2 separate regions of the Homo sapiens genome follow, and region 1 is linked to region 2. Evidence: promoter capture Hi-C in 16 types of primary human blood cells and fetal thymus (Javierre and others, 2016). All regions are on one chromosome and are shown on one strand. Each heading gives the region's core, a stretch centred on a gene start or on the middle of the fragment in contact. The rest is flanking DNA. Distances are from core to core; before and after follow the strand shown.

Region 1 (4,476 bases), core at 621-3,120, 830 kb before region 2:
GGGAGGCTGCGGCGGGCAGATTGCTTGAGCTCAGGAGTTCGAGACCAGCCTAGGCAACATGGCAAAACCCCATGTCTACTAAAAAATACAAAAATTAGTTGGGCGTGATGGCTCACGACTGTAGTCCCAGCTACTTAGGAGGCTGAGGCTGGAAGATCGCTTGAACCCAGGAGGTGGAGGTTGCAGTGAGCCGAGATCATGCTACTGCACTCCAGCCTGTACGATACAGGGCGACCCTGTCTCCAAAAAAAAAAGAAAAAAAAAACAAACTTGCTAATACAAGCGTAGATAACATTTTATTTTAACAGTTGCATTATAACGCTTCTTACTACCATCCCTCTCGTTTATCTCTTTTCCATGGTTGCTTTGGACAAAGTCACTTTTTTTTTCAACCCATATAAACTGGCTAAGGAGAGGATTAAAAAATTAACCCATATCATCTTACTAATCAAAATCAAGGGAGCGAAATTACACAAATAATTCTTACTTAAATATTGTCCTTGTGCTAGCAAAGCTCAGGATCGGTCCTCGAATGATGTCTATTCCTCGGTCATCTGAAGCATTCAGCTAAATGTGGAAGACAGAAGACAAAACAAAAACCATGTTGCTGTGCTATCTGTGAGTTCTTGGTGTTAGTGTATTTCCTCATCAGTCCAGCTCAGCAGGCTAGCTCTCTATGTCTAATGATGGCTAAGAGATCATCATAAAATAAAAAATCAGTTTTACACAAAATTCACTAAATTAATAAAGATGGCTATATTACCCCCACCCTTTGAGGACAATGACTGACATAAATTGGAGAAATAATTAATTGGTATGGTTACACTGAACAGCACCTCTGGTATGAGCAGAATGATACAAATTTCAGCTACCACAATCCTAAGTTACCAAGTTCTTAATAAACTGAAATAAGGACATTAGTAGCAGCAAAGTTCTGAGACCTGCGTCTAAAAAGTAAGTTAAACTTTTCTTGCAATAGACAATACTCAGATTTTTGAATCTAAGTATATTAGTCAAGGTCCCAGCAATATACAGATGGCATACTCAAATGCAGCAATTTGAAGAGAATTAAACAAGATCTTTTTAAAGGTGTGATATAGGAAAACCATGGGGCTATGCAATACCTGTCACCCTTGAGCCTGAAGGGCTTAGTGAAGGGAGTGGCTGTAGGCACCTGGAGAGGGCTGCAGGAAAGGTACCACCTGTGAGATGTACCCTACAGGTGGGCCATGCTGCCAGCCTGTGTCAGCCCCCAGGGAAGGCCCAGGCATCACTCACTTCCTTCCCCCACCCCTGCCAAGGCCCCTATTGGCCAAACCCAACCAGGAGCCAGAGGGTAAGTGAGCTTATAGTCAGTAGGGCTCAGCCTTCCAGGCAGGAATATGGTGGAGAAACGTGGAGAATTGATCTAGAGGGGCCATGGCAGACAGGCAGCAACCAAGTCACCATAAAGTAAGGTTTGGGGAGAAGTTGGCAAGAGCAAAGAAAAAGGTGCCAAACCCTACAACTGCCCTCTAGCTGACCAACGCTAATCCAGACCAAAATGACCATTATAGGAAAAAGGGAATTAAAATATTCAAATTTACTTCTTTCCTAACTGTCCGTGGGGCAACTTACTTTTAAAGTAAAATAAAACCAGCAGAACTGAAATTAAGAGACTGGAGTCTCTTAAGTTATTTGTAGAGTAAGAACAATCTTATTTACCTCCAAGACCATGGAGCCAAATTCTTTGTCTTTATATAGCTGTTTCGCACAGGCTAGGATGGTAGATGTCTTGCCTGTCCCTGGGGGACCGTAGAGAAGCAAGTGTGGCAGTCGGTCTTCATTGATAAACTTCTGAACTGAGGATCAGGAAGGAAGAAGGGCACCATCAGTCTTTGGGAGCTGCCTCATTCACCCTGGGCTCCTGAGTTGGGCTGAAAGCTCTTCAACCCAATTCAATGTCCAAATCAGAGGCAGATACAACTTGATGTAGGGGCCTCATATCTACTTTCGTGGAACAACTGGAATTCACTCAATAGCGCAGCCAGTCAACAAGTATTTATTGAGTGCCTACTGTGTTACAGGCACCTTTCTGGGTGCTGGCAACATCTGTGAACTTAAATGATTCTCCGTAATGCTATTTTTACTCCACTGTGTTGCAATTTTATGCTCATGTTTGTGACTTACCCACTGGACTGTAGCAACCTGAAGAAAATGAATGAATGATCTTAAAGCCACATTCTACAAAGCGCAATCAGATTCTTTGAAGTTATTACTTAGGAGAGACAACATCACCAAGCAATTTATACAAGTCGCTCAAGCAGGACAAGAGCAACTGACACATGAATACTTACTGGTACTCAGAATGTCCTGATGAGAAATGAGATCATTCAGGGTCTGTGGCCGGTATTTTTCAACCCTGAAATACAATTTAGTATGTATTATGACATATATAAATGCAAGAATATTTTATGTGCAAAAGAATCCTTGCAGGTCAGGCACAGTGGCTCATGCCTGTAATCCCAGCACTTTGGGAGGCCAAGGTGGGTGGATCATTTGGGGTCAGGAGTTCAAGACCAACCAGCCCGGCCAACATGGCAAAACCCTGTCTCTATGGGTACCTCCTAGGGTCTTTGTAAGGATAGAACAACTAACAGGGTGTCTGCTAACCCGATAATATGCCATTCAATAAAAAATACCAAAAAATACAAAAATTAGCTGGGCATGGTGGCATACCCCTGTAGCCCCAGCTACCCCGAAGGCTGGGGTGGGAGAATTGCTGGAACCCGGGAGGCGGAGGTTGCAGTGAACCGAGATTGCACCACTGCACTCCAGCACTCCAGCCTGGGCGACAGAGTGAGACCTTGTCTTAAAAAAAAAAACAGAATCCTTTCATATCCTAATTTAAAAAGGAAGAATAAGAAAGCACTTTAAGTTTGAACAGACCAGTGGTTCCCAACCACAGGTGATTTTGTCTTCCTAGGAACATCTAGTGATATCTAGAAACATACTTAGTTGTCACAGGTGGGCAGAGGGTCCTATGGCACTCAGTGTGTAGTCTCCAGGAATGCTGTTAAACATGCTACAGTGCACAGGACAGCTCCCCTAAACCCACCCAGAGTATCTGGCCCAAAATGTCAATAGTGCTGAGGTTGAAAACTCTGTTCTAACTTCATCTTTCCAGCTGTTTGCCTATAATCTCAACCTGATGGGCACCTACTATTGCAAAGTGCATTTGAAACTGAACTCCTACCCAAATAGACTTCAACAGAAGAATGGATAGGTAAAATCTCTTCTGTCCATACAATGGAATATGATTCAGCCATAACAAGAAATTAACTACTGATACAAGCAGCAACATGCATGAACCTTGAAAACATGATCCTGAGTGAAAGAAACCAGACACAAAAGGCCACATAGTGTAGGATTCCACTTACATGAAATGTCCAGAATAGGCAAATCCATAGATAGAAAGCAGATTAGTGGTTGCCAGGGGCTAGAGGAAGGGGAGAATGGGGAGTAACTGTCAATGGGTAAAGGATTTCCATTTGGGGTGATGAAATTTTGGAACTAGATAGCGGGAAGACTCCACAACAGTACACTGCATTCTGAATGTACTTAATGCCACTGAATTGTACATTTTAAAATGGTTACAGGATGGGCTTGGTAGCTCGCCTCTAAAAGTCCCAGTTCTTCGGAGGCTGAGGCAGGAGAATGGCTTGAACCCCAATGTTTGAGGTTACACTGAGCTGTGATCACACCACTGCGCTCCAGCATGGGCGACAGAGCGAGACCCTGTCTCTAAAAAAAAAAAATACGTAAATACATAAAATAGTTACAACTGTCAATCTTCTGGGTTTTTTTTAACCACAATAAAGACAAATTGAACTAGTTACTAGACAATGACAACTTGCAGCTTTTCGAAGCCAAGCCAAATTGCTTCAAAGTCTTGGAAGCATTGCGAGAACATAGCTGTTTAAGTAGGATGGTTAAGAGTACAAGATCTGAATTCAGACTTCCTAGATTCACCTCCAAGCCAATTTTCTCCCTTGGACCATAGGGAAGTCATTACATCTTTCTAAAATGCAGTTTCCTCCTGTGTAAAATTTGAAGCGGTGCCTACCTCCTACGGTCTTTGTAAGGATCGAACATCTAACAGGGCGTCTGCTAATCTAATAATATGCCATTCAATAAAAGTTGACCAGGGAGCGTTATTACTAGTTTAAAATGTGACCAATAGTCGCATCGCAGGTTTTGAAGAGTGGGAAGAGGGCATTTTGGCATGGAGGCCATTGCAGGCGTCAGGAGACGCGGGATCGAACCCCTGTGCTGTCACCAGGTGCGAAAGCCGCCTTCTTCTTCGGCAAATGGAGCTGGGGGTGAAAGGGTGAGAACTGGCAAAAGCCCTAAACAGAACGGACGAGTCTGGGTAGCTGGGGGGTGTCGGGGGAAACCTCTGCAGGTCGGTCCCGGCTGCAGGCCTGGAGACGACGG
Region 2 (4,921 bases), core at 269-2,768:
TTTCTACGGGAAATAGGGAGCCACAGATGGCTCAACGCCATCCATTGAGAGTCACTTTACTAGTTCAGCTCTCTCAGGGCATCTTGATTTCCAAGTTGCCAGGAGTACTTCATTGGACCCTCCATGTACTGACAACAGATCCTTCTAACTGTAATTGCACTTTGAGGTTTTGAAGCAAAGACTCCATTTTTCTCACCCCTGTATCCCCAGGGCACACAACACAGGGCTTTGGCACTGAACTAAACTGATTTTTTTTTTTTAATGTGCAGATCCTGAGACTACCCTCCCAATCCTGAGTGATAACTCCCGCTTTGAAGACTCAAATCCAGGCTTTAGCACTTTTGTCTCTGTAACTTTGAACCAGTGACTGCCACCTGGAAGAACTTTGCCTTTTCTGTAGAATAGGTATAACTGTGGTACCTATTGTGGGAGGTCAGACTATGCTCCCCAAATATGAAGGATTGTTGAGCTGGAAACAATTAAGAAACCAGTACAGGAGAGCTCTCTGCCTGCCCTCTATTAGCCTAAAATCAGGGCACACATTTGAGGATTATTATTACTCCCCTACACCATCATAGAGGGCTTCCCATAGCACCCACTCAAGAATATTGTTATTATTACATCATATGGTTAAGATTACTGACAAGCAAAAGTCAAGTGGATCTGAAATAGAATCCAAGACAAGGGGCTGGGCGCGGTGGCTCACGCCTGTAATCCCAGCACTTTGGGAGGCCGAGGTGGGTGGATCATTTGAGGTCAGGAGTTCGAGACCAGCCTGACCAACATGGTGAAACCCTGTCTCTACTAAAAATACAAAAATTAGCTGGCTGTGGTGGCGGGCGCCTGTAATCCCAGCTACTCGGGAGGCTGACGCAGGATAATTGCTTGAACCAGGGAGGTGGAAGTTGCAGTGAGCCGAGATCACGGCCACTGCACTCCAACCTGGGTGGTGGCGCGCGCCTGTAATCCCATCCGCACGGGAGGCTGAGGCAGGAGAATCGCTTGAACCCAGGAGGCAGAGGTTGCAGTGAGCCGAGATAGCGCCACTGCCCTCCAGCCTGGGTGAGAGCAAGACTCCTTCCCAAAGGGGGAAAAAAAATCCAAGACAAGGGATCCTGAGCAAGCCCTCTCACTCTCCGAACCTGTTTCCCCATCTGTAATATGGGGAGAAAGTTCGCAGGGTAATTCGGAAAGGTCCAATGCGCACAGAAAGCGCTCAGCACGCGTGAGAATAGATACCATTTTTATTTGTTAATTTTAAACATTAATTACGTTTAAAAGAATCAGTGCTACTATTGTTGTCCCGGACTAGAGGCGGCTTGCGCTGCCGGCTCCAAGCACAGAGCCCAATTATGTCCTCCCTTTTGCGGCGCTGCCACCCGCGCAGCCCCCAGCCGATGCAGGGGAGGTGTGGCCCGCGGATGGGCGGAGCGATCTCAGGACTCGCCCCCAAGACCAGTAGGCGGGGCCAGGCGGGGCGCCCGGGCACTCTCGCACGCGCGCGCGCGGCGGCCCCAGGTACGCGGACAAGATGGCGGCGGCAGCAGTCGACAGCGCGATGGAGGTGGTGCCGGCGCTGGCGGAGGAGGCCGCGCCGGAGGTAGCGGGCCTCAGCTGCCTCGTCAACCTGCCGGGTGAGGTGCTGGAGTACATCCTGTGCTGCGGCTCGCTGACGGCCGCCGACATCGGCCGTGTCTCCAGCACCTGCCGGCGGCTGCGCGAGCTGTGCCAGAGCAGCGGGAAGGTGTGGAAGGAGCAGTTCCGGGTGAGGTGAGCCAGCGGCCCCGCGCCCCGGCTGCGCGCCCACCGCCCCGCGCCCCCCGGGGCCGGGCAGCCGCCCCGCTAGCTCCCCGCGGCCGCCCCGCGCGCGGACCCCACCCCGGACCCCTTCCCGCGGACAGACAGACAAAGGCCTCCAGGCCCCGGACCCTGCGGGGCCACGCCAGGCGGACCCCCGGGTCCCCAAATGGCGCATCTAGGAGCGCCTCGCAGCCGGGTCCTCCGTCAAGGGTGACGCTGGCGGCGGCGCGGCTCGTCCCTTTTGCGCGCTTCTTTTGTGCCCGACTTCGGGCTGAAATGTTTACATGGACCCAGTGATGCATCGATCGGGCGGGCGCAGCATCCCCGGGCTGGTTGTGGACGGCACAGATTTCAGCGTGGCCCCAGGATGAAATCTGGCCCTGCACACTCCCTCTGTGACCTTGGGGGGAGCGACTTCCCTTTTTTTGAGCCTCGTTCATAGACTTTGAGTGGTGGTGATCATTAGACCTACCTTTCACCGTGTTTATTAAATTAGATGATGTCCGGGAGGCACGCACGCAGGGCCCCGGCTCCTAGGAGGCGCTCAATCAGTGCTCACTGTCATTGTCATTATTATTATTGTTGTTGTTGTTACAACTGTCCCCATTTTAGAGATGGGGAATGGAGACATCATTCATGCCGCTACGCCAAGGTCACACCGGGAGTGAGTGAGTGAATGCTGGTGGGGTTTTGAACTAGGTCTCTCGCCGGGGTCCCTCTTACCACTGGACGCCACTGCTGTCCCTGTTTCCAAGGCTGCCTTGGATTCGTGGCCGCCTGCCTTTGAGTTTCTGTTAAGCTGAGGGGGTGTTTCTCTCCTCGTAGGTGGCCTTCCCTTATGAAACACTACAGCCCCACCGACTACGTCAATTGGTTGGAAGAGTATAAAGTTCGGCAAAAAGCTGGGTTAGAAGCGCGGAAGATTGTAGCCTCGTTCTCAAAGAGGTTCTTTTCAGAGCACGTAAGGATCTGTTGATGTGGCTCTAAGCTTTGGCTTGCTGGTGTATGTGTCTGGGTCTGCAGGCATGAGCTCATCCAGCTCTTTTCGTATCTCCCTTTTCAATGCTCTCACAATCCCTTACTCACTTAGATGGCTGCAAGAGTCATTGTGTCCTTTTCCTCCTATCCAACAACACGAAGCCATTTGTCTGTGCCAGCTTTACTTTTCTAAAGCCAGAGAGAGAGTGGGGGTGGAGGGAGCAGGGAGGGACCCACGCAGCACAATGTAGACGGAGTCCAGATCAGCATTATTTCTCAAATGGGTTCAACGGATTTTTTTTGCAACCCCTCCGTTATTTGGGGAATCATCAATGATTGAACACTGTAAATTTCTCCCGGTTGTTTTCCCAGAAGGGTTGACGAAATTAATGTGGTTCTTCTCTCTGGCTTTGCAGGTTCTACCCAGTAGTGAACTGCATTATTTGTTAAGGTAACAGAGGATTAAAAGCTACCTATAAATCAGAGTTATTACTCCCTGAAATGAATTGTCTTGCATTCATTATCCCTGAAAAGTTTTTGGGTTTTTTTTTTTTTTTAAGTATTGCAGAAATACATGGTGGGTTTTTTTTGTTTTGTTTTGTTTTGTTTTCTTTTTTTCTTTCCTCAAAATGTCTCATGGAAGTTTCTTTCTTTTTTCTTTTTTTGAGACAGAGTCTTGCTTTGTCTCCCCGGCTGGAGTGCAGTGGCGCAATCTCAGCTCACTGCAACCTCCTACTCCTGGGCTCGAGCAATTCTCATGTCTCAGCCTCCCGAGTAGCCGGGACTACAGGCATGCGCCACCATACCTGGATAATTTTTGTATTTTTAGTAGAGTTGGGGTTTCACCATGTTGGTCAGGCTGGTCTTGAACACCTGGTCTCAAGTGATCCGCCGGCCTCTGCAAACCAAAGTGTTGGGATTACAGGCGTGAGCCACCGTGCCTGGCCTCACGGAAGTTTCTGTATCTGCCCCTGATCCCTTTTTGTAACTCTGGAAAATAATCCACACTAATGTTTTGAGTTCAACAAACTATTCGATATTTATTTCTGGTTGGGGTTCTAGAAATAGAGCCAATCTGATTTATTTCACTTTTTTGTTTTCCTAAAGACTCCTTTGGATTCTCTAATTTTAATTACTGTTAGTTAATGGAGTTAATAATTTGAAATGTTTTCAAGGCTTTTCAAGTTTTGAAAGGGAAAATTTGAACTTTGGACAAATTTGAATGTTTTCCCCTATGGAGAATACAAATAGACATTCCTTAGTGTAATTGGTTTCTATAAATATTTATTAGTGTTAGAATAAACAAAATTTGTATTTTACTTTGGAGAAGCCATGCCCTGGCTAAAAGCATTCATAATCACAAATTGTAAATGCTGATCTGAATGTGTTTGCACATACGTAGATTTTGGTACTAGCTATGTTTGGTGCAGTTGGTCATGGACTATGAGCCTGCAACCTCCATTTCTAGTCCAGCTGGTTTTGTGTATGTTTTGAACAGTCTGTGCCTCTGTGTAATAATGATGGATTGTTGTGTTTTTTCCTCAGCTCCCCCTTTTCCTGTACCACTGCTTAATTAGAAGTATGTCAAGGACTTTGAACACAGCGGGAGCATACTTAACATTAATCTGTGGGTGGGTGATTGCTTTGGCCCGGGATCTTGGCGTTCCTGTGTTCTCAGAATGCACACAGGTTGACCTGAAATGTTCTGGCTACTTGCAAAAAGAAAACTGAGAGAAGCCATAGAATTTTAAACTCAGAAGATCTTTTTTTTTTTTTTTTTTTTTTTTTTGAGACAGAGTTTCACTCTTGTTGCCCAGGCTGGAGTGCAATGGTGTGATCTCAGCTTACCGCAACCTCTGCCTCCCAGGTTCAAGTGATTCTCCTGCCTCAGCCTCCCGAGTAGCTGGGATTACTGGCATGCGCCACTACGCCTGGCTAATTTTGTATTTTTAGTAGAGATGGGGTTTCTCTATGTTGGTCAGGCTGGTCTCGAGCTCCTGACCTCAGGTGATCCGCCCACCTCAGCCTCCCGAAGTGCTGGGATTACAGGCGTGAGCCACTGCACCTGCCGCCGCCGCCTTTTTATTTTTTTTAAAACGGAGTTTCATTCTTGTTGCCCAGGCTGGAGTGCAATGGCGCAATC

Evidence for each region. The method cuts DNA at HindIII sites, captures the fragments that hold promoters and counts their contacts. A CHiCAGO score of 5 or more calls a contact.
Region 1: a contact is called between a fragment that was not itself captured here and the fragment with the promoter of FBXO21 in region 2, in 1 of 17 cell types (non-activated CD4 T cells). The highest score is 5.3, in non-activated CD4 T cells.

The regions. Positions count from the first base shown.
Region 1 is chr12:118,016,997-118,021,472 of GRCh38, reverse strand. It overlaps RFC5 (replication factor C subunit 5), which reads right to left. Exons shown (of 11, transcript NM_007370.7): 2 at 2,337-2,401; 3 at 1,705-1,841; 4 at 488-567. Among named protein-coding and RNA genes, the nearest start is that of RFC5, 2.5 kb to the right of the region's middle. The HindIII fragment of the contact is 6,314 bases long and covers 1-4,476 here.
Region 2 is chr12:117,187,067-117,191,987 of GRCh38, reverse strand. It overlaps FBXO21 (F-box protein 21), which reads left to right and starts at 1,518. Exons shown (of 12, transcript NM_015002.3): 1 at 1,518-1,770; 2 at 2,626-2,761. The coding sequence starts at 1,532. RefSeq lists silencers at 1,302-1,361, 1,402-1,501, 1,782-1,831 and an enhancer at 2,302-2,391. The HindIII fragment of the contact is 6,345 bases long and covers 1-2,790 here.